Linked DNA regions of Homo sapiens: all the other regions are linked to region 1. Evidence: promoter capture Hi-C in 16 types of primary human blood cells and fetal thymus (Javierre and others, 2016). All regions are on one chromosome and are shown on one strand. The core of a region is centred on a gene start or on the middle of the fragment in contact, and the rest is flanking DNA. Distances in the headings are between cores, read along the strand shown.

Evidence for each region. The method cuts DNA at HindIII sites, captures the fragments that hold promoters and counts their contacts. A CHiCAGO score of 5 or more calls a contact.
Region 2: a contact is called between a fragment that was not itself captured here and the fragment with the promoter of PLPP5 in region 1, in 5 of 17 cell types (total CD4 T cells, total CD8 T cells, total B cells and 2 more). The highest score is 7.3, in total CD4 T cells.
Region 3: a fragment that was not itself captured here is called in contact with the fragment with the promoter of PLPP5 in region 1 in 5 of 17 cell types (naive CD8 T cells, naive CD4 T cells, erythroblasts and 2 more); the score reaches 6.3 in naive CD8 T cells.

What each region holds. Positions count from the first base shown.
Region 1 is chr8:38,267,404-38,272,168 of GRCh38, forward strand. It overlaps PLPP5 (phospholipid phosphatase 5), which reads right to left and starts at 1,821. Exons shown (of 7, transcript NM_001102559.2): 1 at 1,723-1,821; 2 at 1,479-1,587; 3 at 968-1,058; 4 at 494-557. The coding sequence starts at 1,796. NSD3 (nuclear receptor binding SET domain protein 3) reads right to left here. Exons shown (of 24, transcript NM_023034.2): 24 at 2,301-4,765. It also overlaps a transcript of DDHD2 not described here. RefSeq lists a silencer at 1,540-2,019. The HindIII fragment of the contact is 3,801 bases long and covers 1-2,509 here.
Region 2 is chr8:38,167,153-38,171,917 of GRCh38, forward strand. It overlaps LSM1 (LSM1 homolog, mRNA degradation associated), which reads right to left. Exons shown (of 4, transcript NM_014462.3): 3 at 2,650-2,765. Among named protein-coding and RNA genes, the nearest start is that of LSM1, 7.0 kb to the right of the region's middle. The HindIII fragment of the contact is 199 bases long and covers 2,228-2,426 here.
Region 3 is chr8:38,200,367-38,205,131 of GRCh38, forward strand. The region is part of intron 2 of BAG4 (BAG cochaperone 4); the gene reads left to right. Among named protein-coding and RNA genes, the nearest start is that of BAG4, 26 kb to the left of the region's middle. The HindIII fragment of the contact is 6,490 bases long and covers 1-4,765 here.

The sequences.
Region 1 (4,765 bases), core at 571-3,070:
AGCATGGTTGGAACGTAAATCATTAACTCCAGAAATTATTTTTCAGTTGTAGCAGACATTAATAATCCTGTTAACTATTGGTCAAATAGTGCCCCAGGCAAAATAAGGTAACTGGCTTAGTATAGTCACCACACTAAGAGAAAAGCCTTTCAAGGTGAGCATTTAAATTAGGGGAAAAACGCCCATTCCAGCACATGATTACTTTTTAGGGCAAACAGCAAATGACACTGCAGCTTCAGGAGGTGCTCAAGAGGACACTGACCGACTGCTGTGGCCGTTGGTGGGAAATGCTGTTCAGGCAGAAAAGAGCCCAGGTGTCACCTGGAGGACTGAGGTATGGGGAAGGGAGTAAGCGTTGAATGACAAAAGAAAAATCAGAGTGAAGATAAAGGAGAAAAGAATGAGAAAGACGTGTGGTGGACACCATTAACCTCTCTGTTCTGGTGGGTAAGGGCTGAGGCAGATGCTGGGGTGGTTAGCTGTTGTCACTTACCTCCCTACGATCAGTTTTATTGTGTTGGTAAAGACGCCATTCAGAGCCAGGGCAAGGCTGGCAGCTGCAAAGCAAAGCCATTAGTTGAAAGGATCTGTCTAGGAGGAAAGGTATGGTCATGGCCTCGTTATGAGAGCAGCCGTGCTGTTTCTGAGATGGATAGAATCCAACCAGGCCTGGGCACAAAAATAATTAGGGTCCTCAGTGATCACTCTTTTGTAGCCGAGAACTTTTGTACTAGGCCAAAGACATTTCTGAGGTACAAATAACCCAGTGCATTTAGGCACAGGGCTGCCTGCCGTGTAGCCTGCGTAACCAAGTCCCTGCAGTGCTATTTTCCTCTCCCGCGGGGATAGAGTTCCTTTAGGAATGCAGAACTCAGTGGCCTCCACACAGGCTCACCGTGGCTGAATCCCACAACGACCTCCTAGGTTCCCAGCACGAAGAAACCGGCCCGAAAGGGCTAGCGCTCACCCAGGCAGGCTTGTCTGCTGTCTCTTGTGTCTGCCTTCTTGAGAAATTTGGCCAGGAAGATCAGAGACAGTGGAGAGAGAAATGCAATAACCTGAATCAGAATGTCAGAGGTTAAAAACAATCCAAAAAAAAGCCACACTCGTGCTCCTACAGGAAAGAGGGATGTGACACAGCAGGACTCACTGGAGCTAACATAAGGTCTCTGAGTGCGCGTAACCGGGCGCCAGGCAGCGCCACCAGTGAACAGCAGCGCCCGTGCGGCTCGGGCCCCGGTACCTCAGGCTGAGGCACAGAGCGCCCGGGAAAACGTTGTCTCAGCCCAAAGAGGCTCGGACACCCTCCTCTCTCAATCAGGATCTTAAACACTCGAGCCCTAGGAGGCGGAACCCAGCGCACAGCAGCGGAGTGGGCAGTGGGTCCCTACAAAGGCCGTCTCGGGGTGGAAAACGCACAGGTGCCCGCGGGAAGCCGGGTCATGGGGAGGGAGGAAAGACGATCTTTCTCCACGCACAAACATCGGCTTGGTGGGGAAATACTCCGCCTCCACGTAGGGGTTCCGGTAGAGCCACATCTCCTCCGGCTGGATGAGTCTCTGGAACGGGGGGAGCAGCTCCGTCACCCTAGAGGGGAACAAAGAAGCGCAGAGCAGGTCGCCTGGCTTCCTCCCCGCTTCCCCACTGCCCGACCCGCCGCCCCGTGCCGCCCGCCTGCCTGGGAAGCGGGGCCGCCCGGGCCCGGCCGTGGATCTTTCTTACAGGAAGGCCGCGAACAGCGCGAGCCGCACGCCCACTTCGGCCCCAAAGGCCACCGCCGCCGCCGCCTTCCCCATCCGGCCGCGAGCTCCGAGCGACGCTGCGCTGACGTGGCCACCTCCGCGGGGAGGGCCGGGCCGGGAACTGGGCACCGCCCCCTCTCCCAGTTGCCCGCGCTCCGGCGGCTCCCCAGGAAGACGGCCTGGCGGCTGTGCCGAGGGCATCGTCTGGCAAAGGGTACGCAAAGCCAGCGGAGCTGCCCTCTGGTGCGTTCAGCAGGGAGCCAGCGCCCCAGTTCCAGCCGAGTAGGTCGGCGTACGGTCCATCATCAGCAGCTCGTCTCCACGGCCCAACCACACCACCGCGGGGAGCAGCCTTCTCCCGGGACCTCGCCTCTAAATGGAAAACCAAACAGCCCGCTCTCAGATCCTCGTTCCTTAGCAACACAGCCGCATTCTGCAGGAAGCTACACTACCTGAGGTTGGCTGGATTGTGTCATTTAGTCCTCCCACCCAGGATGGCCTCCTGCCCAGAGTGTTGTAGCAAAAAATTATTGGCAAAGAACAAGCCCACATATTTAATTTGGAACATACAGGACAATTTATTGAAGTCAATCTCAAGCAAAATCTGAAATCAGTGGAATGTCATTAAAAACCTTTCCAAATTAATCCTCACGGAAGCAAAAAACACATTGGAATTCCAAAGTATTTGTAAAATAAAAAAGGCAACATCTCAGTAAATATAATGTACAAAAATTATATGTTCCTACCAGCACACACATCAGTAAAGAAGCTTAAATATTACAGGCAACCCTAAATACACTATAACTAGTCAACAATAAGCTATCTATATACAGGTTAACCAAGCTTTACACGTTTCACACTATGCAATAAAACATAGGCCAATCAACAAAATCCTCAAAATATTATATATCTTGAAGTCTATGTGGCAACATCAAGTCATTATACAGTAATGCCCTAGTGGAACACCCCCAGGGAAAATTAACACTAATCCCTTAGTGTCAAGAGCTTCTAGCCAAGTCACAGAAACTCAAAAGAGATTGACTTTAGTGAATATTGATGCTTTGTTATTAAAGACTCAAGTCTCAAGTGATTTAGGCAAAGTAATGGTTCACAGGATCTACAAAGTTTATTACAGATAAAGTACAGAAATAACCAATCTACAAAGATCATTATCATAAAGAACACGAGAAAATGAAAACGGAGTCTGTAGGTATCTGTGTTTGTTGTGCAATATCACTCAAATGGGTACAAATGAGTTTCTCATATCAATTCCAAATATACACATACCCTTGTATATAAAAAATGATATTAGCCAGTTGTAATACTCATTTAGCATCTTGATTATTAGTGGCAATATAATTATCTTAACATAGGGCATGTAACAGGACAAATGAGATAAAATAATGACAACCAAGTAAGTTTTATCCAGTCCATTTCTAAACTGACAAGAATACCTTATTCAATACCTTATATAGGTCATCTGACAGATACTTGAGGGCTGTTTGCACACATCAAGTGTGTTGGCAGGCAGGGAGGGGAGCAGTAAAAGCTGAGGGTGCTTTCTCACTAACTAGCAGATGCAGTAATGCCACATAAGAAAACTAAGGACTGAATAAATGACTTTGGCATCTATTCTATTTTCCCTTTTTACTTACATGTAAATTACTTTTACAGCCTACTGAAGGACAGGCAATTCTCATCCCCCTCCCGCTTCATACATACGTGCCACAAGCACCCAAACTTGTCACTTATGCAATGGACTGACCAAAACAAAACAAAAAACAGAAATGTTTTTTGAAAGACACGGATTACCCACATTTTGGGAGTGTAACGTAAGTGCAATTTTTTGTTTTGTTTTTTTCCCTACATAGACATAGTAAAAGGAAAGAAGATGTGCTTGGGGAGAGGGTTGACAAAATGACAAAATAAAGAATGTACATAAAAAGTATTTGTAAAAATGCTGGTATCTCATGCAGGAGTCTCTTCCTCAAATGTGTTCAATCAATCTGAGCTATCTACTGTGAACACTCTCCCATTTGCAGAACTTCACCTTTAATCCACGCTAAAGAGGATAAGAGACTAGGCTATTTATTTTCAAAACAGTTTACAAAACAATGCTTTCTACTTCATAAATGTAAAAAGAAACTAAAATAAGGAGAATCTGAAGAGTTTCAAGTACTTAAAAAACCTGAATTCAATGAGGCAGAGGTCTCAATGTTAAAGTGACTATTTCGTACCTGTGGTAAACATTATCCCCCCCCTTACCCTTTACCAGGAGAAAGGGGGTTCCCTTTCTCCTGGTACCCCACCCCAGGTAAAAGTTGGTGAGATTTCAGTATATACACATTTCCAACTTTTCAGTATTTGTTAATTCATTGCAAAGCTGTCTAATTATAGTATTCCCTAGTCCATCTGAAAATGGAAGCAAGTTCTACTTTTTGTTTTACAAATAACCAGAGACCAATTCTAGGTGGCCCTAGGCCAAAGGAAAGTGTTTCCATTCATCAATTCATGTCTGCACCAACTTGGACAACTGGGGGAGGCTGGATGCATCAGCCTTGTGAAAAGTAACTTTAGTCTACGCTGCCCAGAAATAAAGCAACTTTCCAATGTCCTTTTTCTCATATGGAAGTATAGAATGTCAGCTTCCCAGCTGTGAGGGCTCCATAGCCACTGTTTTCTTATCTTGTTAAGAGGACATGGCATGTGGCAGCCAACACCTTGACTTCAAGGTGAATGCTAAAGGAAGAGCTTTGTATTTAAAATGAAATGAAAGACAAGCAACAAGTCCTGGGCAGTCCAGAGATTGTATTCTCTACAGATGGCCTGTTTGCAAACAGTAGGTCTGGGTTTGACCTATTGGAATACACCATGCAAGAAACTACTCAAAAAGGAAATTCCACTTCATGAACCAGGAAAGTTGTCCAATAGCCTGTCCCATCTGAGGGTCCTTTACATGATTAGATACTCAATATCTCAGTTCCACAACGTTATTTACAGACATGTTTTCAAATATTTTGTGT
Region 2 (4,765 bases), core at 1,077-3,576, 100 kb before region 1:
AACATATTTTTTTAAAAAAGGGAACTTTTCCTCACAAAAGGGATCCAAGGAAACAATTAAACTTCAAGAACAAACACGTTCACCTCTTTCTCTGCACAAACACACACATCTACTTAGATGTAACTTTGTGCCAATGTAACCAGTATAAAAAGCATGTCTGCTATGTTTACTACTATAAAACAGAAGCATATCTGTGAATATTTTCTTGAGAAAGGGTCTTGCTCTGTTACCCAGGTTGGAGTGCAGTGGTACAATCATGGCTCACTGTAGCCTCGACCTCCCTGAGCTCAGGTGAATCTCCCACCTCAGCCTCCCAAGTAGCTGGGACTGGTGATGTGCACCATCACCCCTGGCTAATTTTTGTATTTTTTTGTAAAGACAGGGTTTGGCCATGTTGCCCAGGCTGGTCTCTTGCAGCTTAAGCGATCTGCCTGCCTCGGCCTCCCAAAGTACTGGGATTACAGACGTGAGCCACTGCACCCACCCCAGTATTTTAACTTAAGTTTTTTCCTCTGATACGTTGCCTCTTCAAAATTAAATTCAGAAAAGTATTTTTAAAAATCATCTATAACCCCACCATGCAGAGATGGGTCAGCTCCCCTATATACTGGCAGTATCAAGCACAGTGGCATGTACCTATAGTCCCGGCTACTTGGGAGGCTGAGACAGGAGGATTGCCTAAGCCTAGGAGTTTGAATCTAGCCTGGGCAACATAGTGAGACCCCATCTCTGGAAGAAAAAAAATACTGGCAGACTACTTTACAGTCATGTAGTGTCTCCCCATGGGTACCATGGTACTAGGTGCTTTCAGACTTTTTTTTTTTTTTGAGACGGAATCTTGCTCTGTCGCCCAGGCTGGAGTGCACTGGCACGATCTCGACTCACTGCAAGCTCCGCCTCCTGGGTTCATGCCATTCTCCTACCTCAGCCTCCCAAGTAGCTGGGACTACAGGCGCCCGCCACCACACCCGGCTAACTTTTTTGTATTTTAATAGGGATGGGGTTTCACTGTGTTAGCCAGGATGGTCTCGATCTCCTGACCTTGTGATCCGCCCGCCTCAGCCTCCCGAAGTGCTGGGATTACAGGCGTGAGGCACCGCACCTGGCCTTGTTTCAGCCTTTATGCGACACAAGAAGATAACAATTTCTGCTGCTTGGCTGGGCGCGGTGGCTCATGCCTGTAATCCCAGCACACTGGGAGGCCGAGGCGGGTAGATCGCCTGAGGTCAGGAGTTCGAGACCAGCCTGGCCAACATAGTGAAACCCCGTCTCTACTAAAAATACAAAAATTAGCTGGGCTTGGTTGCGGGCACCTGTAATCCCAGCTACTCGGGAGGCTGAGGCAGGAGAATCACTTGAACCTGGGAGGCGGAAGTTGCAGTGAGCTGAGATCATGCCATTGCACTCCAGCCTGGGCAACAGGAGCAAAACTCTGTCCCAAAAAAAAAAAAAAACCCAAAAAACAAAAAACAATTTCTGCTGCTTAAACATGCAAGAAATGATACACTGAACTAAAAGTACAAACTACAAAAATATTTTATAAGAAAAATTTTTATAAGTATTACTTATAAATATTTTATAAGTAAGAAAAAGCTATTTCATATATTTCACAGCATATATTTCATATATTCATATATTTCATATACTTCATATATTTCACTTGGGCAGTATTGATAGTCTGGATTAGTCATTTCTAGCTATTTCCAATATGAGGTCTCTGAACCAACCCAACCCTAGCAGAATTATCTCCTTGCTTTCTCAAATGGCTGTTAAAAATGGCTACAAACCAAACCACTCTAAAGATTTCTGCAAACTGATTTAAGACATGGCTAGGTATTTAGAAAACAGTATTAAAAACTTTAAAAATTAAGCAAACACCAAAGTTTTTGGTAAGAAAAAAGAAGACAGTGCTGGCTCAACCCTTAATTTCAACTACTCTTGAAGAGATTTTTATTTTCCTTGCAAACCCAATAATCAGAAATAACAAGATGAAATCAAAGGTTTTAAATAAGATACTTTAAAAAAAAATCTGAGTACTTCTAGTAGGGGTGTGTGTGTGTATGTCTGCACACACGAAGACCTACAGCAACAATACCTCAGAAAATCTGATTTAACCTTTCACCTGCCAGCTGGTCTTTCTGGCACAGATACCAAAATACCCTCTCCCTGGCTGTGAGCTAAGGATCCAAGTAAGACTGAACTCCATTCTCGGGATAGGTAACGGAAAAGCTTTTCCTATAGCTACTCTTTCCCTTTCCCCCTTTACTAATATGGATATCACATTGTACTGTACAGGCAATATGTACTTCCCTGAAATACTGTGCATTAGCTTTATGCCATGAAAAACCACTTGTAACCAATTGTTTAAATGACTGCAAAATATTCCAACGTATGTAAGACACACCTTCCCCAGCATATATAAATCAAGCTTTGTCAATTTTCTGCTATTAAACAAATATATTAATGAACACATTTGTTAAGGCACTGAAACAAAGTATTCTCTGTAGCTTCCCTAAATTAATTTGGTAGTTGCCTAGGAGAAGCCAGATAAATGTGGAGAATATTTTTATTCTCTTTTGAAAAGACAAAAAAAGAAGTCTAACTAGCATGAATATGAAGATCTACAGCAGCTTAATAGTTTTCACTTACTATTTCTCCTAGTAGGACCACATTTTCTCCTCTGACCACAAAAATCCCTCGAGGAATATCACCGTATTTTTTGCCCACATGAATACGCTCCACAGTCTGATGTAGCACTAAGTTTGCTGTAAGTGTATAGGGAAAAACCAAAGATATTTAGTTTAAACTACTGGGTAAAGGCCCATAACTCAATAATCAGTTATTTTGAAAAGATTTAGGTAAACATGATTTCCAAGCTTTCTAATTATTTTTATTTATTTATTTTTTGAGACCGAGTCTCGCTCTGTCACCCAGGCTGGACTGCAGTGGCGCCATCTCAGCTCACTGCAACCTCTGCCTACTGGTTCAAGCAATTCTCCTGCCTCAGATTCCGGAGTAGCTGGGACTACAGGTGCCTGCCACCACTCCCGGCTAATTCTGTATTTTTAGCAGAGACAGGGATCACCACATTGGCCAGGCTGGTCTTGAACTCCTGGCCTTGTGATCCGCCCACCTCGGCCTTCCAAAGTGCTGGGATTACAGGCGTGAGCCACAGTGCCGGGCCCCCAAGCTTTCTAATTCTGGGGAAGGCTAAAATTTCAAATAATCTTCTCCTATTTCATTGAGTAAGACGTACCAGTTAGGAGATGTCTGGGATTATGTTGGGCTAATACATGAATGACAGCAGAAATAAGAGAAATAAATTCCTTTATCAGTTAATTGCTAATACCAAAAAAAACCATAGGAAAATATAAATGAATAAGGAACTTGGAAAACTTGGGCCTAAACAACCACAGAGATCAAAACTTTTGTTTTCTGGAAAGAAACAGCTTTTCTTTTTGTGTGGGTGTGTATGTGATGATCTGCTGAAGATTCAACTTTCTTTTAGTAATTAGGATTCATTTGACCCAACGCAGGTATCCATGGGTTATGATACAGCAAAAACCTATTTTTTCACCTTGACAGATAACTATATTTGTAATCTAAAAGTCAACTTAATAGCCACTACCCTTCCCTCAAAGTACTCTGATGAATCTGACTTAAGAATCAGGACTCCAATTTGTTAACAATAATTATTTTTCCTCTTTCAATTAGTACTACTTGTCCTATTTGAAGTAAAGGAGAAATCTATGTTCATATCTTCCATAATCCTTTTAAGTGTTTTAATTACGTTTCTTCCTCATGCTCAAATCCAGTGATTTCGCAGATATCCAATAAATGTTAGCATGAACATGAAGTTCCTTGAAACAGAAGGAAACATAATCTTTTAACTTAAGAAAAATGCAGGATGCGAAACAAAGACAGAGGCCTCTTATTCCAATGTATCCCTATATGTAAAGTATTAAGCTTAATGTTGGGGTCCTTAAAATAAAGGAAATGCCTTCTACCCAATTTTCATTGGCTAGGGAGGGATTACCTTCACTTCCGGAACTGCTTTGAAGTCATTTTACCCTGCCAATGTAGAAATAAGCAGCCTTGGGCCGGGCACAATGGCTCGCGCCTATAATCTCAGCACTATGGGAGCTAAGACCAGCCTTCCAGCTGTCCCCACTGATGCACCAGACATGTGAGTGAAGCTCCTTCAAACCAGCTGACTCACCTTCTAGACACCAAGGGACTGTCCTAAAACCATGAGGAGCAGAACAACTGCCCAGCTCAGCTGGGTGGGTGGATCACCTAAGGTCAGGAGTTTGAAACCAGCCTGGCCAACATGGCGAAACCCCGTCTCTACTAAAAATACAAAAATTAGCTGGGGGTGGTGGCTGGAGCCTATAATCTCAGCTACTTGGGAGGCTGAGGCACAAGAATCACTTGAACCCAAGAGGCGGAGGTTGCAGTGAGCCAAGATTGTGCCACTGCACTCCAGCCTGGGTGACCGAGAGCGCGTCTAAACAAAAAACAAAACAAAACAAAACAAGCCTCTTCGGTGGACTGAGTTTATTTCTATCATTTGGCTCCCCCTACTGGGGATTCTACTGAAAGCCAGTTTTAGAAACGAGCTTGGAAATATATATAAGCTTTGAACCACCTAATCTGAATGTATAGAAAACAATGATGTACTCACTAAAATCAGTCCTACTAGGTCACACACGTGAAAAAGTTGCAGATAAATTTCAATATTAAATAACAAAAAATGCAATGGGCT
Region 3 (4,765 bases), core at 1,035-3,534, 67 kb before region 1:
CCATTAATCTATATGTCTTCCTTAAGCCAATACCAAACTGTTTTGATTACTGTGGCTCTGAAGTAAAATTTGAAATCAGGAAGTATGAGTCTCTCCAAAGAGATGGACTCTCTCTCTCTTTTTTCTTTTTCTTCTTCCATATGGTTTCGGCTATTCTGGGTTGCTTACATTTTCATATGAATTTTAGGATCAGCTTTTCAACTTATGTAAAAAAGGCAGCTGAGATTTTCTTTTTTTCTTTTTTTTTTTGAGCTGGAGTTTTGCTCTTGTTGCCTAGGCTGGAGTGCAATGGCACGATCTTGGCTCACAGCAACCTCCACCTCCCGAGTTCAAGCCATTCTCCTGTCTCAGCCTCTGGAGTAGCTGGGATTACAGGCATGCGCCACCACGCCCGGCTAATTTTGTATTTTTAGTACAGATGGGGTTTCTCCATGTTGGTCAGGCTGGTCTCGAACTCCGGACCTCAGGTGATCCGCTTGCCTTGGCCTCCCAAAGTGCTGGGATTACAGGCATGAGCCACCATGCCTGGCCAGGCAGCTGAGATTTTTATTGAGATTGCATCATAGATCAGTTTGGAGAGTAGCATGTGTACTTTTATAGTTAATGTAAGAGGGAGACAAAACTCATAGTCATGAATTATAAGTTAATGTTAATTTTTCTGATTTCACTGATCTTACTGATAAAGATTGCTTTTTCTCATAACATTTTCCCCCTTAGGTAAAAGTATTTATTACATTCATATGTAGGTTCAAAAAAGATTAACTTATAATTTAGTAGTAACTTTTTAAAAGCAACAGTAATAATGTGCAAATGTTTTTAGATACAACATACAAGTTGTTGGATTTAAAATAACCCAAAGGTGTCTAGACATACACCTTTTTGAGGTGAGCACATGTGTATTTTCTGGCGAAACATCACATGGGGATTATACATTTATCATCATCTTTTTTTTGTTTGTTTCTTGAGATAGATAGTCTTGCTCTACCACCCAGTTCATTGTAGTGGCATAATCATAGATCACTGTAACCTTGAACTCCTGGACTTAAGTGATCCTCCTGTCTCAGTGTCCTAGGTACAGGTGCGTGCAACCACACCTGGTTTAATTTTTAAATATTTTGCAGAGATGGGGTCTCATTATGTTGCCTAGGCTGGTCTTGAACTCCTGGGCTCAGGTGATCCTTCTACCTCAGCATCCCAAAGTGTTGGGATTACAGGCGTGAGCCATTGCACTTGGTCTAGCTTCTATCCAAGATAGACTCCTATAGTGGTATATAGATATGACTGGTTTCCTTTTTAAAAAATTAAGCAGTATCATGTCTTTACCTTCCGGCTACCTCCTTGGGTTAGCCTTGCCACATGGTCATTCTTCTGTTTGGTTGGTTTTATAAATCTTAAAAATTCTCATTCAAAAGTAGCTATAATAAGCCAAGAATATGTAATTTCATGCATTTATTCTGAGTGTGGAATTTATATATATATATATATATATATATATATATATATATATATATATATTTTTTTTTTTTTTTTTTTTTTTTTTTTTAAGAAGCTGTTAATGTTGCTAAGGTGTCTGACCAATCTTCCAAGTTGATTAGCCTGCCATGTGCCAGGTGCAGTTTATGTGCTATGCAAGTATTAGGGCAGCATTTGAACTAAAGCCTTCCTCATTTTTCAGAACTTCATTCTTTAACTAATAGTGTGGACTCTTGAGAGGAGCATGGAGGGCGATTCATGGAGTAGGGTGTGAACAGCACGGAAGTTCACAATCTCAGGCTGTATCTCTGGAAGCAGAAGATATTGTCTCACCCAACTGTTAATAAAGTTCGTGAGGTTTTCTCAGTATTATTCAAACTCGGTTGAGTTGCTTCTGCTTTGTTCTTAAGTCCTTCTTTTTCCTTTTCTTTTCTTTCTTTTTTTGAGACCAGGTCTCCCTCTGTCACCCAGGCTGGAGTACAGTGGTATGATATTGGCTTACTGCAACCTCCACCTCCTGGGCTCAAGCGATCCTCCCACTGCAGCCTCCTGAGTAGCTGGGACTACAGGCACATGCCACCATTCCCAGCTAATTTTTGTATTTTTTGTAGAGAGGGGGTTGCCCCCGCTTATCTTAAACTCTTTGAGTTTAAGCAGTCCACCTGCCTTGGCCTTCCAAAGTGCTAGGATTACAGGCATGAGCCACTGTGCTCGGCCCCCTTTTTTTTTTTTTTTCTGTTTCTCAGGCTGGAGTGCAATGGCATGATCACAGCTCACTGCAGCCTCAATCTCCTCTGGCTCAGGTGATCCTCCCACCTTAACTGCTTGAGTGGCTGGGACCTTAGGCATACGCCACTACACCTGGCTAATTTTTGTATTTTTTGTAGAGATGGGGTCTCACTTTGTTGCCCAGGCTGGTCTGGAACTCCTGACCTCAAGCGATCCACCTGCCTTGGTCTCCCAAAGTGCTAGAATTACAAGAATGAGCTACCACGCCTGGCCAAGTCCTTCATTTTTATGACATACTTTAATATGTAACAGAAATCTGTTCTGAAGTCCTAGAAGCATTTTCTTCCTTTTTGGATTCCGTCTTATGACTCTAAATGGTGCAAGGAACTCCTGTATTTTCTTTGCTGTGCTCCAAGTGTCAACCTAAAATAACAACAGAGAGAAGGACTCTTCAAAGAAATGAATCTGTTTGGAAATAAACAGAGAATTACAATTTCAGATGCGCATACCATAGATAATCATCCCCTACATATCTGGAGAAGTTGTAGTAAGGGGAAACTTTTAAAGGGAAAGAGGAGAAGTCCATATAAGCTGTTTTGAGACAAACATCATTGGTCACAGGGGCCTGTTGTAGGAGCTGATGTTACTGGAAACTCATTGCTAAGCGAGTGTTCTTATGAAGATGGCTTATGTGAAACTGCAGTCTTGAGGAATTTTTTTTTTTTCTTTTTTTGGACAGAGTTTCACTCTGTCGCCCAGGCTGGAGTGCCATGGCACGATCTTGGCTCACTGCAAGCTCCGCCTCCCGAGTTCACGCCATTCTCCTGCCTCAGCCTCCTGAGTAGCTGGGACTACAGTCGCCTGCCACCACGCCCAGCTAATTTTTTTGTATTTTTAGTAGAGACAGGGTTTCACCGTGTTAGCCAGGATGGTCTCGATCTCCTGACCTCGTGATCCGCCCACCTTGGCCTCCCAAAGTGCTCAGATTACAGGTGTGAGCCACCGTGCCTGGTTGAGGAATTTTTTGTGATAAGTCCTGTTACAGACATATGTAGGACAAGCAAGATGAGTAGGGCCTACAGGGATTTTTTGTGAGTTTTTAGAAAGCCCTGTGATATAGGCTGGGTGCAGTGGCTCATACCTGTAGTCCAAGCTACTTGGGAGGCTGAGGCAGGAGGATAACTTGAGCCTGGGAGATCTAGGCTGCAGTGAGCTATGATGGTGCCACTGTACTCTAGCCTGGGTGACAGAGTGAGACCCTGTCTCAAAAAAAAAAAAAAAAAAAGTCCTTGTGATAATACTTATCGCAGACATGTGTGCATGAGATCCCCTCCTTCGTGACCTCCCCCTCCATTTTGGGTCTGATGTAAGTGACTCCATCTTGGCATTGGCAACTTTCACACAAGCTGCTTTTCAGACAAAGACTTAAAAACTTTGCCACGTTTCTGAAATAGGATCTTTAGCTCATCCTTAACAAACATCTTTAGCAACTGCAAGGCTGTTATATAATCTGATTCTGTGTTCTTTTGTAAACATGCATGTGACAGCTTTGTGATCTGTCAGGACAGTGGTTATTTGGGAAAAGAAGCAATGAACTCATGAAGGCATCTCAAAACCAGGAAGTAATTCCAGGAATCAAGGAAATTTTCAAGCATCAAAAGTAATGGCTGGCCAGATGTGGTGGCTCACACCTGTAATCCCAGCACTTTGGGAAGCTGAGGCGAGTGGATTGCTTGAGCCCAGGAGTTCGAGATCAGCCTGGGCAACATGGCCAAACCCTGTCTCTACAAAAAATACAAAAATTAGCCAGGCATGGTGGTGCATGCCTGTGGTCCCAGTTACTTAGGATGCTAAGGTGGGAGGATTGCTTGAGCCCGGAGTTTGAGGCTGCAGTGAGCCGTGATTGTGCCACTGCATTCTACCCTGGGTGTCTTGGGGAGAAAAAAAGTAATGGCCAGGCATGGTATAATCCCAGCACTTTGGGAGGCTGAGGTGCCAGGATCACTTCAGCCTAAAAGTTTGAGACTAGCCTGGCAACATAGCGTGACCTCATTTCTATTTAAAGAAAAACAACAACAACGAAAAAAAAAACAAAAACAACGCCTGTGAGAAGGGAAAAAGAAAAAAAATAAACAACAAAAGCCACATAAAAGCAATGAGAATCACACACTAAAGTAACATGAACCCATCTATTGGTTTCAATGGGTTATCAGTACATGGCCGTCGTGTATTTATTCTTGGAGTATTTCCTTGGAGTATTTTGAAGCAATTTCAGATATCATTTTATCACTTATAAATACCTAAGTATGTTTCTTTAAAATATAAGGAAGTTTTAAAAACATAACCACAATGTTTTTAAACATTTTTAATTAAAAATTAAAACTTAAAAGGAAAAAAACAACCTTAAAAATAATTATTTCATATCATTAAATATCTGGTCAGTTCTAACAGTAAAATATTTATTTAGTTAGTTAGCTAGTTGAAGACAGGGTCTTACTGTCACCCAGGCTAGAGAACAGTGGCTTGATTATAGCTCACTGTAACATTGAACTCCTAGGCTCAA